Linked DNA regions of Homo sapiens: region 2 is linked to region 1. Evidence: promoter capture Hi-C in 16 types of primary human blood cells and fetal thymus (Javierre and others, 2016). All regions are on one chromosome and are shown on one strand. The core of a region is centred on a gene start or on the middle of the fragment in contact, and the rest is flanking DNA. Distances in the headings are between cores, read along the strand shown.

What was found. The method cuts DNA at HindIII sites, captures the fragments that hold promoters and counts their contacts. A CHiCAGO score of 5 or more calls a contact.
Region 2: a contact is called between a fragment that was not itself captured here and the fragment with the promoter of PDILT in region 1, in 1 of 17 cell types (M2 macrophages). The highest score is 6.9, in M2 macrophages.

The regions. Positions count from the first base shown.
Region 1 is chr16:20,403,165-20,406,459 of GRCh38, forward strand. PDILT (protein disulfide isomerase like, testis expressed) reads right to left here and starts at 1,573. Exons shown (of 12, transcript NM_174924.2): 1 at 1,332-1,573. The HindIII fragment of the contact is 3,157 bases long and covers 501-3,295 here.
Region 2 is chr16:19,910,649-19,913,943 of GRCh38, forward strand. No RefSeq gene overlaps it. Among named protein-coding and RNA genes, the nearest start is that of GPRC5B, 27 kb to the left of the region's middle. The HindIII fragment of the contact is 806 bases long and covers 1,262-2,067 here.

The DNA of each region.
Region 1 (3,295 bases), core at 323-2,822:
GTCCCAGCCACTGTGGTTTCCCGCCAAGAGGGTGTGGTAACCTCCTTACTGATCCTGCCTCTGCTTCTACTCTTTGTGCTTCACCTCAACCCATTCCCCACACAACAATCAGACATTTCCTTTATTTTTATTTTTATTGTTTGAGACAGAGTTTTGCTCTTGTTGCCCAGGCTGGAGTGCAATCACATGATCTTGGCTCACTGCAGCCTCCGCCTCCTGGGTTTAAGCGATTCTCCTGCTTCAACCTCCCTAGCAGCTGGGACTACAGGCACCCGCCACCATGCCCGGCTAATTTTTGTATTTTTAGTAGAAACGGGATTTCACCATGTTGGCCAGGCTGGTCTCAAACTCCTGACCTCAGGTGATCCACCTGCCTGGGCCTCCCAAAGTGCTGAGATTGCAGGCGTGAGCCACCGTGCCCAGCAGAGATTTCCTTTCGACACAGGAATTCCATCACACCACTGTGCCTATCAAAAGGTGCTCACTTTTGTGCAAAAAAAAGCTTCTGCCTCTTTTTTTTTTACAATCCATTCGCAAAACCGCACACCAGCCAAACTGTTCTCTGTGGTCTACCAGGCCCCACTGGCTCTGGACCCATCTGACCTTATCGCCCTCCTCTCTCTCTCTCCTCCCGCACTCTGGGGAGCCACACTGGCCTCTTCCCTTTCCCAAGCACACCCTACCCGGGGCCTTTGCCTCTGTCTGGGGCACCCTTCCCTCACATCGTCAGCCTTTTCTGGTTCTCTGGGTCCTAGCTCGAATCCACGCTCATCAGAAGGGTCTTCCCGGGCCACTCTGTCTCACCCCATCTCAGCTTTCAGCACTCTCTGCCATATCACCATTGTTTGCATCATATTTTGTATTATTATTTATGAGTGTACTTTGTTGTTGTTGTCATTTTGAACTTTTTAATGTAAATACCATTGTTCACAGCTGTTTTCTCCCCTTCAGAACAGTGCCTGTACCAGATTTGGAACTCAATGAATGTTTGTTGAATGAATGAATGAATGGCCTAATTTAACTCTTACAGCAAACCCCATTGGTTCATTTCAGTGGTTCTCAACCATGACTATGCTGAGAATCTCTTGGAGAGTTTAATAAAAAATACTGATGTTCAAACCCAAACCCAGTAGGTTCTAATTTAATTGATCTGGGGTTGGGTGAGTCTGGGCATTATTATTATTTTTTAAAATCCTCAAGTTGATCCTAATGTGTAGCCATCTATACACCAAAACTGACACTTAAAACTTAAACTGGTGACTCCTGGTAGAGAAAAGCCTCCCAAGGCAGGGCCCATCAGTCAGATTTCCCATTTTCACTGAAGCTCATACCTGCAGGAAGCCAAGGCCACTCCCAGGGTTCCTGGGGCCAAGGTGGGGCTGTGCTGGGGGTGGGGCCACAAACTCTGTGGCCCTTAAGAAGGAAGGTTGTAGCCTGAAGAGGAGGCTCCTGGCTTCTCCTTGTGATCAGGGCAGGACCCGCAGACGACTGGGCATTCTAAAGAATCCACAGGCAGAAATGAAGTCCCTTCCTGGGCACACAGAGGCCACAGCAGCCTCAGCAGCAAAGTTCTGAGTTCTGGGGTTCTAGAGGACCAGGGGTGACCCTGTAGAAGAATGGGCCATTGTTGAGTAAGAGGGGGCCCTGCCTGGCAGCCCTTGCTGAGTTTGCTTGAGGGGCTAGAAACAAAACTCAGTGTGGGGTGCTGGGTATGGCCCAGGAGGGCTCTGAACTCAGTGCCTATAGATTGGAATTTGAATCCCAGCTCTGTCTTGAACAGCTGTATGGCCTTGAGAATGTCACTTACTCTTTCTGAGGTTCAGTTTCCATGCCTGTTACATGGCATCTAACTCATGGGGGTGTTGTAAGCAAAGTAAATTATGTGGAATTTAGAAGATAATTAATGATATGAAGAAAAATAAAACCTGGAAGGATGATGAGGAACGCCTGAGAGGGGGATGGGATAAAATAAGAGGATTTATGCAAAACGAGCAGCTCAGTACCTAGAAGGCAGGAGCCCCTCACGCATCACCACCCTGGCCTCATCTCCTAGGGGAGAAAGATCTCCACTCACCCTGCTCCAGCCACACTGGTGTCCCTGCCAGTCCTCCAATACAATGTCTGGGCCTCTACACTTGTGGTTTCCCCTGTTAGGGAGGCTCTTCACCCAGGTGGACTCAGGGTTCACCCCTTAGCTCGTTCCAGTCTTTGCCCAAATGTCACTTCCACAGTTGGGCCTTTCCTGGCCACTTTGTTTAAATTTGTAAGTGCCCCATCCCCCTCTCAGGCGTTCCTCATCCTCCTTCCAGGCTTTATTTTCCTTCATAGCATTAATTTTCTTCTAAACTCCACATAATTTACTTTGCTTACCTGGTGATAGGTGCTCAGTAAATATTTGTTGAATGAATAAAGAAAAGGCTGTTGATATTATTAGCATCGTTATTACTGTCAGAGTTTGCAGCCTTTGGCTATCTGCTGCCCAACTGTTATTAAATACTGATGGAGATGACTAACATTCATTTCACTAAATTTTAACATCTGTGGGTTTTAGTCCTAGCGCTTTGCTCTTCTCTTTCTTTTCTTTTTCTTTGAGACAGTGTAGTGGCGCGATCTCCACTCACTGTAGCCTTCACCTCCAGGGTTCAAGCGGTTCTCCTGCCTCAGCCTCCTGAGTAGCTGGGACTACAGGCATGCACCACCACGTCTGGCTAATTTTTGTATTTTTAGTAGAGACGGGGTTTCACCACATTGGCCAGGTCGGTCTCAAACTCCTGACCTCAAATGATCTGCCTGCCTCGGCCTCCCAAAGTGCTGGGATTACAGGCGTGAGCCACGGCATGCGGCCCCACTCTTCTCTTTCCATACTTAACTTCCATACTTTTGTTGGCTTGTTTAAATGCATGACTTCAAATACACCCCTTTATAAGTTACTCTCTCATTTACTCTCCAGGATTTGATCAATTGATTACATTTACTATTAAGACCGTTTTCCATCTGCCTATTAGAAAAGCTCTTTTTGGTTGAACCACACTCACTGAATATCTGAATGTCTTAATTTGAACTCATCATGTCCCTTTCAACTTTTCTTGGCAATTATTCCTTTTCTGGATGTTGTGTTTGCAAATAATTCCTGGGATGTGTTTGACTCTTTTTTCTCCCAGGCCTAAATCAACAATCTAGTCTGGCATATATTATTTTGACATCTTTCACACTTGTCAACTGTTAGTCACAAACTAAAACACTTGGGTTATTATCCCAAATGTCCTTCATTCATTTTCCTTCACTCTTGCACACA
Region 2 (3,295 bases), core at 415-2,914, 490 kb before region 1:
ATCTTTGCAATCTCATTTCATCTATCCCCACAGCCCAGATTCAAAATTTTTTCTTAAGAGGGATTTCTCAAAATTTAACTTAAATATTTTTTAAAGTCAAAATCGACCCCACTCCTCTCTTCACACTTAGTCTGTTTTTTTTTTTCTGAGAATATTCAAAGTAAAATTTTAGGCATTACATCATTTTATGTCCTGGAATTTTTTTTTCTTTTTTTCTTTTTGAGAGGGTCTTGCTCTGTCATCCGGGCTGGAGTACAGTGGCATGATCACAGCCCACTGCAGCCTTGAACTCCTGGGCCCAAGCAATCCTCCCACCTCAGCTTCTCGAGTAGCTGGGACTATGAGCACGTGCCACCACACCCAACTAATTTTGTTTTAATTTTTGTAGAGACAGGGTCTCACTGTGTTACCCAGGCTGGTCTCAAATTCCTAGGCTCAAGAGGTCCTCCTGACCTCCCAAAGTGCTAGTATTATAAGCATGAGCCACCATGCCCAGCCTATCGCAGGGATCTTTTAAAGTTGTTCTATGCACTCATACTGTGTTGGGAATACTTATACCAATAAAAAATGTGTTCCATTGCAAGTAAGAGAAGACTCAAATAATAGGAGCTTAAACAATCAAGGCATTTAGCTAATGGGAAGTTTGGAAGTAGAGGGTCAGAGGTTGGGGCAGTGACTCAGTGACTGCGAGGCACTGGGGTGCTATCTCTGTGAAGCCTTGGTTTTTACCTCATGTTTGTAAGATGGCTGCCAAAGCTCCAAGCTTCACATCACGACACAACAGTGTTCAAAAGAGAAAGGGTGGGAAAAGGGAGCAATAACAAACCTCTTCCCCAAGTGGTTCTTAACAGCATGAAGTCTGGGGGATGCCAGGCCTTATAGCAGGGGTTCTTAAACTTAAGTGTGTGTCAGAATCACCAGGGGAGCCTGACATTGGTGGCTGATGCCTGTAATCCCAGCACTTTGGGATGCCCCGGCCGGGGGGATTGCCTGAGCCCAGGAGTTTGAGACCAGCCTGGGCAACATATGGAGATCCTATCTCTACAAAAAAAAAACCCAAAATTAGCCAGCCATGGTGGTTCGAGCCTGTAGTCCCAGCTACTCAGGAGACTGAGGTGGGAGGATCACTTGAACCCAGGAGGTTGAGGCTGCAGTGAGCTGTGATTGCACCACTGCATTCCAGCCTGGGTGACAGAGCCAGACCTTGTATCCAAAAAAAAAAGAAAAAAAAAAAAACACCAAAAAAATGAATCCCTTTGAAAGCTTTATAAATCAGTGCTAAGTCCCACCCCCAGAGTCTCTGAATCAGCAGGTTGAGGTAGGACAGAGGGAGAATCTGCATTTCAGACACGTTCCCAGTGAGCCTGATGCCGATGTGTGGGTCCCTGCACCACGCTCTGAGAAACACTGGCTGATAGCAGTAGGTCTCAGCCCTGGTTGCACATTAAAATCATCTGGGGGAACTTTAGAAAAAAATCCTGATATCCCAGCCACACAAGGGCCCCAGAACATCAGAATTTCTGCAGTTAGGATCCAGGCATTAAAAAAACTAAACCTCTTCCCCCCCACCTCCCCCACTTCCTTTCCCCGCTTCCCCGTGATCCCAGTGTGTAGGCAGGGCTGAGAACGGCTGTCTGAAAGCCTTAAACCCCGAGGTGGTTACCAAACACGCAGTCTTCAGCTCTACTCTGGAATCAGAATGGCTGGGGGCTTCAGATCTTGTGTTTTAAACAAGCATCCCCAGTGCACTGAAATTTGGGAATCACTCTCCAGCCACATGGTAGCTGCCATCCCATAAACCCCAGTGCGCTGGGGGAAATGACGTGAAAGTGATCCAAGCCATCTAATGATACAATTAGTAACAACAGCTAACATGCGCTGAGCCTTGCTGCAAGCTGGAACATTTAGATATCACATCTTCTAGCTCCCAGTATGAACACGAAAGAGGGGTGGAAGTGATTAGCCCCATTTGACAGATGGGATAACTGAGGCCCAGAGACATGAAATGACCTGCCTAAGGTCACTCTGTTGGTCAGTGGCAGAGCCAGGATTCGACCGAGTCTCTCAAGCTTTGAAGCCCACGTCTTTTGTGCCAGGCATGCTGCCTTTTGCTTCTTCTTTGAGGTCTTCTTTGGGAAAGGATGGGGTGAAAATTGGAGAGACTTGCAGGGGAAGTACAAATAATTCGATATCAATGAAGATGTAGCCTGGGTGGCCAGGCCATGGTGGTTGTCGAATCTACAATGAGCAAGATTCATGAGTGCGAGTCATCTTGCCTCTGCCTTCTGGAGCTGGCTCATTGGTATTAATGGATGAATGGGCCTCATTTGGGCAGTTGTAATTAACACGCTGACTACTGAGATGAGCTCAGCCCGAGTCACTCCTGAATGGCATAAAGCATTGCTCAACACGCGGCTCATCCATTACGTTGTTCTGGGTCCCAGGCTCAGGAGTGAGCCGGCCCCAGGCTCAGGGTGGTCAGCAGAAATGAAGGACTATTGGCATTTTCAAATCATCAGCTTAGTTTGAGCACTTAGCATTTCCCTGTCCGGCTTGGCATCGACGGCAGAAGCTTAATTAGTGGGGACCGAAGGAAGGAAGGCACTTAGGAAGTGAGATGAAGTTTGGGTTCATGTCCACACGAGCTGCTCAGAACTCAGTAATCGGGGCTTTGGATCAGACAGACTTGAGGTCAAATCCCTGTTCTGCCCCTTTTTTGGGGGAAATGACAAATGACCTCATCCCTCTGAGTGTCAGTTTCCTTTCCTGTAAAATGCGGATCATTATGGTGCCAGTTTCATTAGGTCATCATGATGGTGAAATAAAATAACAGGCAAACCCCTCAGCACCATCCCTGGCACCACGCCAAGTGCTTAATAAATGCTAGCTCTTATTAGTATTTACCTACACATTTATTTATTTATGAGAGGAACACAGCCCAAAAATATACACAACACTCACTGGGAAGAGGAATCATAAAAATAGGCTTAGAGGATCGATGGGGATGTAAAAGACGGTGGTTCCTGGAGTCTGAGTGTGAGCTTTATTCGAGTTCAGGGCGGTAAGCGTTTCTGCATCAGAGCCTGAGCTGATTGACTCCGAGAGCCTGAGCAAAGTAGAGAGCGTGTTTGAGGCTCTCGCCTGGCACCCGGGGGGTCTGTTTGCAATTTAGGGTGGCACTTTCCATTCTTAGGGTGGCACTTTCCATTCTGGGACCCTCCTTTCTAGTTTGCAGTTGAGGTTGGTAATCTGAAGACTGAATGTTTCCGTGGTTGCCTGGCACGGTGGGGAGGCC